Linked DNA regions of Homo sapiens: all the other regions are linked to region 3. Evidence: promoter capture Hi-C in 16 types of primary human blood cells and fetal thymus (Javierre and others, 2016). All regions are on one chromosome and are shown on one strand. The core of a region is centred on a gene start or on the middle of the fragment in contact, and the rest is flanking DNA. Distances in the headings are between cores, read along the strand shown.

What was found. Contacts are between HindIII fragments. The CHiCAGO score rates a contact against its expected background, and 5 or more counts as called.
Region 1: a fragment that was not itself captured here is called in contact with the fragment with the promoter of TIGD6 in region 3 in 1 of 17 cell types (erythroblasts); the score reaches 5.3 in erythroblasts.
Region 2: a contact is called between a fragment that was not itself captured here and the fragment with the promoter of TIGD6 in region 3, in 1 of 17 cell types (erythroblasts). The highest score is 8.6, in erythroblasts.

The regions. Positions count from the first base shown.
Region 1 is chr5:149,765,221-149,768,501 of GRCh38, forward strand. The region is part of intron 1 of PPARGC1B (PPARG coactivator 1 beta); the gene reads left to right. Among named protein-coding and RNA genes, the nearest start is that of MIR378A, 34 kb to the left of the region's middle. The HindIII fragment of the contact is 1,117 bases long and covers 880-1,996 here.
Region 2 is chr5:149,809,214-149,812,341 of GRCh38, forward strand. All of the region lies in intron 1 of PPARGC1B (PPARG coactivator 1 beta), which reads left to right. Among named protein-coding and RNA genes, the nearest start is that of MIR378A, 78 kb to the left of the region's middle. The HindIII fragment of the contact is 3,742 bases long and covers 1-3,128 here.
Region 3 is chr5:149,998,767-150,002,029 of GRCh38, forward strand. TIGD6 (tigger transposable element derived 6) reads right to left here and starts at 1,888. Exons shown (of 2, transcript NM_030953.4): 1 at 1,708-1,888. HMGXB3 (HMG-box containing 3) reads left to right here and starts at 1,973. Exons shown (of 20, transcript NM_014983.3): 1 at 1,973-2,413. RefSeq lists enhancers at 1,112-1,900, 2,788-2,867 and a silencer at 1,628-1,707. The HindIII fragment of the contact is 5,274 bases long and covers 1-3,263 here.

The DNA of each region.
Region 1 (3,281 bases), core at 188-2,687, 230 kb before region 3:
GGGCATGTAAGGCTCATCGGGACCTCGGTTACCATTTCACCTGTGCAAATTTTCAGGACTGAGTCTTTTCTCTATACTGCCCCACGAGGGGACTGACATTACTTAAGGCCTCTCTCCAGGACCCCGAGCTCAGGCCTAGCCCGATGGAGCAGAACCATCTCTGGAGCAGAACCACCCCTGACCAGAAGTCCAAAGATGTGAGACTGGGGTCAAATCTAGGTTTACTCCTAGTCGAGAAAATGGGAAGGACAATGTCATATCTCCTCTGGTCTGTGAGGTCGATGGCTGTAAAAGTTGCCCAGTGGTGAACTCAGTTAGGTCTTATCTGTTGCAGATTATGTCACTCCACCCCTCTGAGACTTCAGTTCCTTATTTCTAAACATCGACCAGCACTTTGGGAGGCCGAGGCGGGCGGATCACAAGGTCAGGAGATCAAGACCATCCTGGCCAACACGGGGAAACTCCGTGTGTACTAAAAAAAATACAAAAAATTAGCCAGGCGTGGTGGCGGGTGCCTGTAGTCCCAGCTACTCGGGAGGCTGAGGCAGGAGAATGGCGTGAACCCGGGAGGTGGAGCTTGCAGTGAGCTGAGATCGCGCCATTGCACTTCAGCCTGGGTGACAGAGTGAGACTCCGTCTCAAAAAAAAAAAAAAAAAAAAAATGGAGATAATAAAGCCCCAATCTGTGAGATTGTTTTAGGATTAAATTAGATAGTGTATTTAAAGTACTTGACAATACCTGGCACATAGTAATTGCCCAGTTTATTTAAGGCTGTTATTTTAATAAGGAGTTTTAAAAAAAATGAATACATATAGAAATGTTGTGATTACTAATCTGTGAACCAGTAGCAAAGCTATCACCTCTGAACCCTCAGGCAAAGCTTGGACCTTACAAATGATGTTGCCACCTTGTGGCAGCCTACTCAAATTGCAGGTTTAGTGTTTTTATTTTAAGTCTTGTTTTTAAATTTATGATTATGATTATGATAAGAAATCAGAAAATCTAAAGTTATGTGGTTTAGGCAACAAGGTAACCAGGAAGAACAGGCTAAAATAAAATATCTTTACTGGATTAAAAACAGAGTACCAGACCTAGCAGAGCCTTAATAATCAGTTAATCTATATATTTAAAGGTATCGCTTATTAAGGTCTTTTTCTAGGGCAGACAGCTTGACTAGCACTTTGCATCTATCCTTTGTAGTCCATCCTACTTAGCAAGATCAATATTATTAGTGTCATGTATTTCAAAAAGGGAAACTGAGGCTCAGAAGTAACTGAGTAACTTGCCTGATAACACAGAGCTTTCATGTGGCAGAGCTGGAAATGTGAACCAGGCAGGATGATGATTAAACCTCCTAGTAAGTAACCTCTCAACCAAAATATCTGTCCTGTTCCTGGATTCTAGAGGGTGTCACGGGCTGCATTCTTGATTTCTGCCATAGGGCCTGGGATTATACTCTGCAGTCCTGCCCGTGTCCTTGACAGAGCACAATAGCACCCATCATGATTTCATTGGATTCTACTAAAGGCAAATATGGGGTGATTATTAAATTATCTGTCCCCTCCTCCTCACTGCTCCCTGTCCCCCCACAAAGGCAGTTAGGTGGCCTCTTTGGGGAAAGTAGGTTTTCTCTGAATGGCTCTCAGAGAAGCAGGTTTCCTGCTTGCACTTTGAGAACCTGCATCTGGAACCAGCCCAGAGGGGTGGTAGCAGGGCTATGAGGAGGAAACAGAACCAGCATGTTCCTTTCCAAGTTGGTTCAGCTGACGAGGCTGTCGGAGATGAGGACCAGGTCCCTGCATTGAGTGGCTAGAGAGCTGTCCTGGAAACTCTTTGGTCCATGGTAAGGATATCCCTCATGCCAGGGGAGGAAGTCTTCCTTGCACTAGAAAACAACAGTCCTCTTTCTGTAAAGTTGGGCATCTCGGCCCATTTCCCTTGCTGGCTTTGCTGGGAGAGGAAGGTGTGGGTTGGGGTGTTCGGTTCACAGTGGTAAGCTTTGGGACCTATGTGGGTGTTCATGCAGGGAAGTCCCAGAGCCCACACATGCATGCTTGTGCCTCCAGCCTTTTTCCCCGCTCTATGAGATATGGTCTGGGAGAGGCAGACTAGAAAGATTCCTTGATAATGAATGATTGTTTAGAAATGATGGCTTATTCAGGACTCCCAGGGGAAGAGCCTTCTTCCTGATTTTTTTCTTTGCATTCATGGAGACATCAGGAAGCTTTGAAAGGCTGTGTGGAGAGATGGCATTAGGATGTGCTCACAGACATGGGGTCTCAGAGTAAGCAGAGTCAGATCTTAGAAGATGAGGCTGGAGCATCATTCCCATTGTAGGTAACAACCCTAGAAATCTAGAACCCTCTCAGTTCCTTCCCAAGTAAGAAAGCCTGTCTTAACATCCCTGGAAAATACAGTATCTATTCAGCTGTGTAGCTCCAGGGACTGAACATTCTCACTGGGGTATCCCATTCCCTTTGGACATCTGGCAGGATCACTGAGCTGGACTCCACTCCTCTGGAACTCTCTTTTGTCTACACCAGCGGTCTCCAACTTTTTTGGCACCAGGGACTGGTTTCATGGAAGACAGTTTTTCCACAGATGGGGTTGGGGGTGGGGGGTGGCGGATGCAGGGAAGATGGTTTCTGCATGATTCAAGTGCATTACATGTATTGTGTACTTTATTTCTATTATTATTACATTGTAATATGTAATGAAATAATTATCAACTCACCATAATGTAGAATCAGTGGGAGCCCTGAGCTTGTTTTCCTGCAACTAGATGGTCCCATCTGGGGGTGATGGGAGATAGTGACACCCAAAGTGGGTTGCTTATGTCCAGTCTCCTCCGTAATCTTGTTTTGGTTGCTGTCGCTGCAGAAAACCCTGCTTCACAGGGATAGGATGTTGGAAATAGAAGCAGGCTTTTCAGTGCTTTGTGGCAGTCTCCGGATATTCCGCCTTGATTTTAATCCAGAACGTATGGAGATTTGAAGTTGTCACAAATATATTTTTAAGGCCACCAGATGCAGCTTAATTGGCACTTGCCACTCAGCGATAGGGTTTTTCTTTAGACAAGGTCTGGCTCTGTCAGCCAGGCTGGAGTATAGTGGTGTGATCTTGGCTCACTACAACCTCCACCTCCCAGGCTCAAGCAATCATCCCATTTTAGCCTCCTGAGTAGCTGGGACTATAGGCACGTGCCACCATGCCTGGCTAATTTTTTTTTTTTTTTTTTTTGAGACAGAGTCTTGCTCTGTCGCCCACACTGGAGTGCAGT
Region 2 (3,128 bases), core at 50-2,549, 190 kb before region 3:
AGATAGATCCATCTCTACCATAGATAGATAGATAGATAGATAGATAGATAGATAGATAGATAGATCCATCTCTACCATAGATAGATAGATAGATAGATAGATAGATAGATAGATAGATAGATAGATCCATCTCTACCATAGATAGATAGATAGATAGATAGATAGATAGATAGATAGATCCATCTCTACCATAGATAGATAGATAGATAGATAGATCCATCTCTACCATAGATAGATAGATAGATAGATAGATCCATCTCTACCATAGATAGATAGATAGATAGATAGATAGATAGATAGATAGATAGATAGATAAGCAAGCAAGCAAGCTGGGAGTGGTGGTGTGCACCTGTAGTCCTAGCTACTAAGGAGGCTGAGGCGGGAGGATTGCTTGAGCCCGGGAATTCAAGGCTGCAATCAGCCATGATCATGTTACTGCACTCCAGCTCGGGCGACAGAGTGAGATCCTTTCTTAAAAAAAAAAAAAAAAAAAAAAAAAAATTAATCAATTTCATGTTATTTATATTTTACCACAATTTAAAAACATACTGATAAAAGGAGGCAGGGGATAGCAGAGAATGATAAGTGCTAATCGAGGGAATTCCAGCAGGGTGCTAGGTAGGCCAGAGACGGGATGGCCATTTGGGGTGCAGTGGTCAGGGAGGCCCATCTGGGGAGGGACGTTCAACCTGGGATGAGGATAGAAAGAAGGGAGCCGCTATGGGAGATGAAGGAGAGAGAAGGCGTTCCAGGCTGAGGAAGGCTCCAGCACAGAGGCCCCGGGGTGGACACTCAAGCCACACAACTGTTCCAGGAGGGAGGCTGGTCTTGAGAGATGCGGAGAGGGCAAGCAACTCCCTGTAACTAGCAAGTTATGAGCCAGGGCCAGCCCTGCCTCAACAAAGCCTAACAACATGTACCTGTACATCATTTTACAGTTTAGCAAGTGCTTTCCTGCCACTCTCCTTTGAATTCAAGAGGCCCTTGAGTTCAAGTGCATAAAATTGACTGTGAGTGCAGGCAGACACAATGTGTATATTACCCTGCCTTAAAACACCTTGCGCAGAATATACTTCAACCTTATTGTTTACAAACAAAATGAAACACTGCCTTCCTGGGCCTGGGGCAGGCTTGTACCTGCTGATAGGCCACCCTCCTGACAGGTGCCAGGATCCATGCTGCCGAAGGTGGGGTGGGGGGCCTAGCTGACCTCGGTGCTGAAGGAGGGGAGTCTGGGCTCTGCACAGCCACCTGCCAGGCCATCCAGGAGCTGCCTCACCCCAGGTCATCTCACCCCGACACAGCAACGAGAGACTTTGCAGATCTTCAGTGGATAAGGGGCTGCTTGCAGGCAATAGGAGTGGGTAAGGAGATGACTGTAAGATAACACCTACCCAGGAGACTGCCTGTTCTCTCTTTCCCTTATCATTTAAAGAGAGATGGATCTAATGTAGAACTTTTGGTGGATGGGCCACAGATGTTGAGAAAGTGGCCTGTCTGGAAACTGGTCTGGACAGGTCACACGGGAGATCCCGGTTTGTGTTCCGGCCCTGGGAGGAGCTGGCTGTGTGGATCTCGGGTGACTCCCTCTTCCCGCTTTCTCAGCCTCAATGTCTTAATTTGCAAATTGAGAGATTCATTCACAAAAAGTGTTACTCCAGACCCTTCCGGTACACAAAACCTTGGTTCTGTGTTATGGTAGTCCATCATAAGACTTTATTTCCTGTGTCATGGGGGCCAGAGCCTGTGTGCAGTAGTCACCTTCTTATCTAATGAGAGTGGAAACTACGGCTGGGAGGTGCAGGGAGGCTGCAGAGGGGAATTCCTAGGAAAAAGTCAGATAAAGCGCAAAATTGTGAAACACATGCCTACGTTGTCTTTTAGCGAAGCCATATGACATGTATATTCATTTTTGCCAGTCTTTTGCTATAGGACTGTTTGTGGTGCCAGCATTGAAACCGCAAGTCATCTTCCCTCCATAGTCCACACCCACAGTGCCAGGGTTCTAGTTTCCAGTTTCAGGATGCATTCAGCTGGATCAAGAACTTTGACTCTTGTCAAGCAGTCTGAGTGCTGAATCTTTCTTGATTCTTGCAAATTTCTCATAATCTTTTACCATGAACTCATTCACATGAAATTTGATGGCAGTGTTGTTTGCTTTTTAGCAGCTCAACTTTATTGAATCCTTCCACAGCCTTCAACTTAGTTTTCATTGAAATCTCGTCTTTTGTACTCATATTTTCTGTTTACGGACCAGTTAGTGAAATTTTGTAATTACACTATCGAGTGGGTTTGGGAAGAAACAGCTGAATCTTAGTAAATAAACAACTAAGTCGGTGGGAGCAGACCAGCTGAGGCTCTCAGGCACCTTAGGCATTAGTAAAGGGTGTTATTACAGGAGAGGGTGGGGAGTGTTGGTTAACCAAGTTGGTTGGTCAAGTAGAGGCTGGTTAGGAAAGCCCCTGTTATACCAAAGGCCTGAGATGGCCTGGATGGGATTAGCTTTGGCTGCAAGTAGCAGAAAACTCCCTCCAAATGATAAGAAGTTTGATGAGCTCTGAGTTGAGTCCTCTCTCAGATCCTGAGATAGGTGTCCCAGGGCAGTGTCAGGGATCCTGGCTTTCTCCATCCTGTTGCCCTGCCTACCAGGCAGAGCTGCCTTGGTCCCTGGAAACTGGGCTTCTTACTGGTTGGCTGGGTCTGGCCCAGCCTTGGAGCTCAGTTCTGAGCACTGGACCCCATCTTCTTCTCTGGACTGGAAGATCCACTCCCGCCAGACCTGGTGACCTCCTGTGGGGTCGCCTTACTCCAAGCCCTGACCAGGTACCTACTTGGCTAAGGCTTGGAGCCCGGCTGTGAAGGGCTGAGAATCACCAAGGTTGAGCTCTGCAAGCCTGAACCCGGATGCTTCCGCACAGAAAGGGCCTTGGATGCTGGGTTGAGATCTTTTGCCTTAAATGTTTTGGTGGGAGGCCCTTCCAATGGTCTGGTTTATCTCTGAGTTTAAGATGTTCTGTTCTTCTAGGCTGGGCTCAGAGCCCCTCTCTTCTGTCTACTTATTTTGTCTGGAGTTTAACTTTGTGTTTGTGGCTTTGAGTCTGATTTCAGATGATGCTGTAGGTATTTCT
Region 3 (3,263 bases), core at 638-3,137:
GTACTATGTATTAAGCAGTATGCTTGATGCCAGCCATACAGAGATGAATGGAGCATAGTGCCCACCTTTGAGGAGCCTACCAGGGAAGACAAACACTAGAGCATGTGAAAACTAAATCAGAGGTTACGGAGTACTACTGGAACATAAATGTGCAGATAATCAACTGGAATGGAGCATGGATGGGCAGTGCACTTCAAAGAGGGAATAATATGGTGGGCCTTAAAGAATAAACAAATAGGAACTCATGAGATGAAAGGAAATATTTAACATGAAAGGCAATGAAATACTATATAGGAAATAGAATGTCCTGGTCAGGAACAAAAAATTCTTTGGAGAAGAAAGCAAGGACCAAATCACAGGAAGTCCTAGTCAGGTTTCTAGCTTGCTTTGGGGGCATTAAGAGGCTTTTGACGGTTTTTTGGTTTTGTTTTTCTGGAATGACATGATCAGATTTACAATATAGTCTTTTGGTTGCAGGGTAGAGAACCTAATGGGTAAAGTTGATTTTCCTAAGAGATGGCCTTAAATCTGAAGATAAAAGCAGGCTAAACCAGTAGGCCATATACAGTTTGGATGTTAATTTGAGTGCAATAGGAAGCTATTGAAGGATTTTAAGGAAGGAGAGATGACTGCTGTGTAAAGAATGGAAGGGTATCAGAGAAAAAAGCAGGAGTCCACATGAGATAATGGTGGCTTGGATTAGAGTAGTAATAGAGAGATGGTGAGTAGTAGTCAGTCTGGGGCTATGTTTTTGCAAGCCCTGTGCTGGACCGGATGTGAGGTGAAGGAGGAGTCAAGGATAACGCCCAGGTTTCTGGTTTGAGCACTGAGGAATCCAGCAGATGATGGTGCCATTTACTGAGGTGGGAGGATCTACTGCGTAAACCTCATTTGTTAAGCACTTTACTTGCTTAATATTGCTTACTTGTGGCAGGGCTGGGATTCAAACCCAGGAGGCTCACAACAAAGCTAGCACTCCAAACACTACAGAGTGCTATATAGCTGGTTCTGGGAACTACTAATATTGAGAGGAGACATAGAAAGAGAATGAAGCAAGAGCCAAATCAGACAAGTCTTGGTCAAGCTAAGACGTCTGAATTTTATTTTAAGTGAATGAGACACTGGAGGGTTTTAAGCAGGGAGTGACTTGATCAGACTTACAGTGCAAAATGATCAATCTGACTGCTTCGTGGAGAATGGATTGTAGAGGGGATGTGGGGAGAACTACATCAGTCCAGGCAGGAGATGATGGTGGCTAGAAGGTTGGTGATGGCGGTAGATGCAGAGAAGTAGGCAGACTGGAATACAGTGAGGGTTGTGCGGGAACTTGTACAAATGTGGACAACTTGTGACACTGGAGAGAAAGGACAATCCAATCCAATCCCTATTTGATTTACGGAAGCTCTCCATACGGTCATTCAGCTCAGCTTGAGTCACTCCAGGAACTCACTACCATCACTATTCGTGGGCCAGTGGGAGAGACGGATTGAGGGCAGATCACTGGAGTGATGAAGGCGCTACTTGATGCGGCACTACGTATGAACCCGATCCTGAATGAGAGGGAAAGACTGAGACAGGCTGAGGTCAGGCCTTGAACGTCGTGCTGAGGAGAGGGTGGTATTGTAGGCTTCCCAGCGCCCGACGTGGCTCTGAAAGGTGAGGCGGGGCCTAGATCCCTCACGCTCAGCACAGCCCCGCCCCTGTTACCTGAACGCCCCACAGCAGTGCCCGGGGGCTGAGCGGCCGGGGCGTCCCACCGCCGGCAGCCACAGCTTCCTCCTCCGCCCGGGACCTCTGGCCGGAAGCAGTCCGTTCGCCTTACTAGACCCGCTCCAAGCCTTTGAGCAGTTCGTGTGGGTCCGCTCCCAAGCTAGGGCTGGGCTGTTGCGCTTGCGCCAGGGGTCGCATGCAGTCACGCGCTGCCGACCGCTTCCGGTGCGCCGCGAGGGCCGCCGGGACGGGTCTCCCTGGCGATCCGTGGTGTGCCGCTACTGCCGGTGCAGCCGCCAAACCGGTGCCTCGGTGACGACCGTGTCCCTGCCGTCTTCCTCGAGCTCCCCGGGGCTTGACCCCCGGGGCCCTCGGCAGGCATCGGTGAGGAGCCTGCGGAGCGAACCTGTGCTCCTATTCTTGCCCTTCAGGACCCCATATCGCGACTCCGAGGAGGGGAAGCGAGAGGGGCTGTCGCGACTCCGCGCCGTGTGTCGCCGGGCGGGGCCGCGGGGCCGGGGCTCCTTCAGCCCCCGGGATGCGCGCGCGAGCCCTCGCCTCCACTTCCTTGTTGCTGCTGTCACGACTGGAGCCGCCTCTCGCCGACAGCGGGGAGCGCGAGTGCGCCAGCCATCCCCCTCGTCCAGCCGCCGGGCCAAGCGCCTCCGGGAATGTGAGCGGCGCAGCTTGCACGCTCCTCCGGGTAAGTCCCGCCTTCGAGGGCCGCGCCGAGCCGCTGGGCGACCTCGAGTTGGATGCTGCGGCTCTCTGAGCCTCTACTGAGTCTTCCACAAAGTAGGGCCACTGAGCCTTAGTGTCCTCCTTCCGCAATCCGTATGGGACATTCGGATGTCCCAGACGTCTTAGCTTGACCAAGACTTTGTCTGGTTTGGCTCTTGCTTCATTCATGACCCAGAATGAGGGAAAGGAGCTAGCCCAGAGTCAAACTGTGGCCCATGGCTGAGCCCTCAAAGGCAATCTCGTGAGATTCCAAGGAGGATCTGATGGGACAGAGAAAGTGTCTCGCATATTTCAGGTATTGACCTTAACTCTGTTTTACAGATGAAATAACGGAGACTTAGGGTAAGTAGATTGCTTAAGGTCAGAGGTCCCCGTGCTGGTGCGACTGGTGTAGTCTGTACTAGAACCCGGATTTTCTGTCCTCTAGAGCCCTTCGTTTTTAACCTTAAATTGTCCTGCCTTTTTTTGCATTGCTATACTGCTGCCTCGAGTCTGATAACAAACTTGTACTCAGGCTTAGAACAGGGTAATAAAACAAACAAAACCGTAGGGTGTTGTCTTCCTGCCCTCAGCCCAAGGTGGCTGTAATGAGTGTTTCCTAACCCGTTTTGCGCAGGGTGCTTAGTACCCTATATGCCATTCATTACAGATGCTCTCCTGCAGTTACTGCCCTTCTCCACAAGGCTTTCAGCCGCCCAGAAGTCAATTCAGGGCAAAAAAGCGCAGTCCCCACGTAGCCTTGATTTGAACTACTGCTTCCCTTATCCTTTACTGGCCTATTGCTTACCCAGCCAAGTTGTAGACTGTGTTCT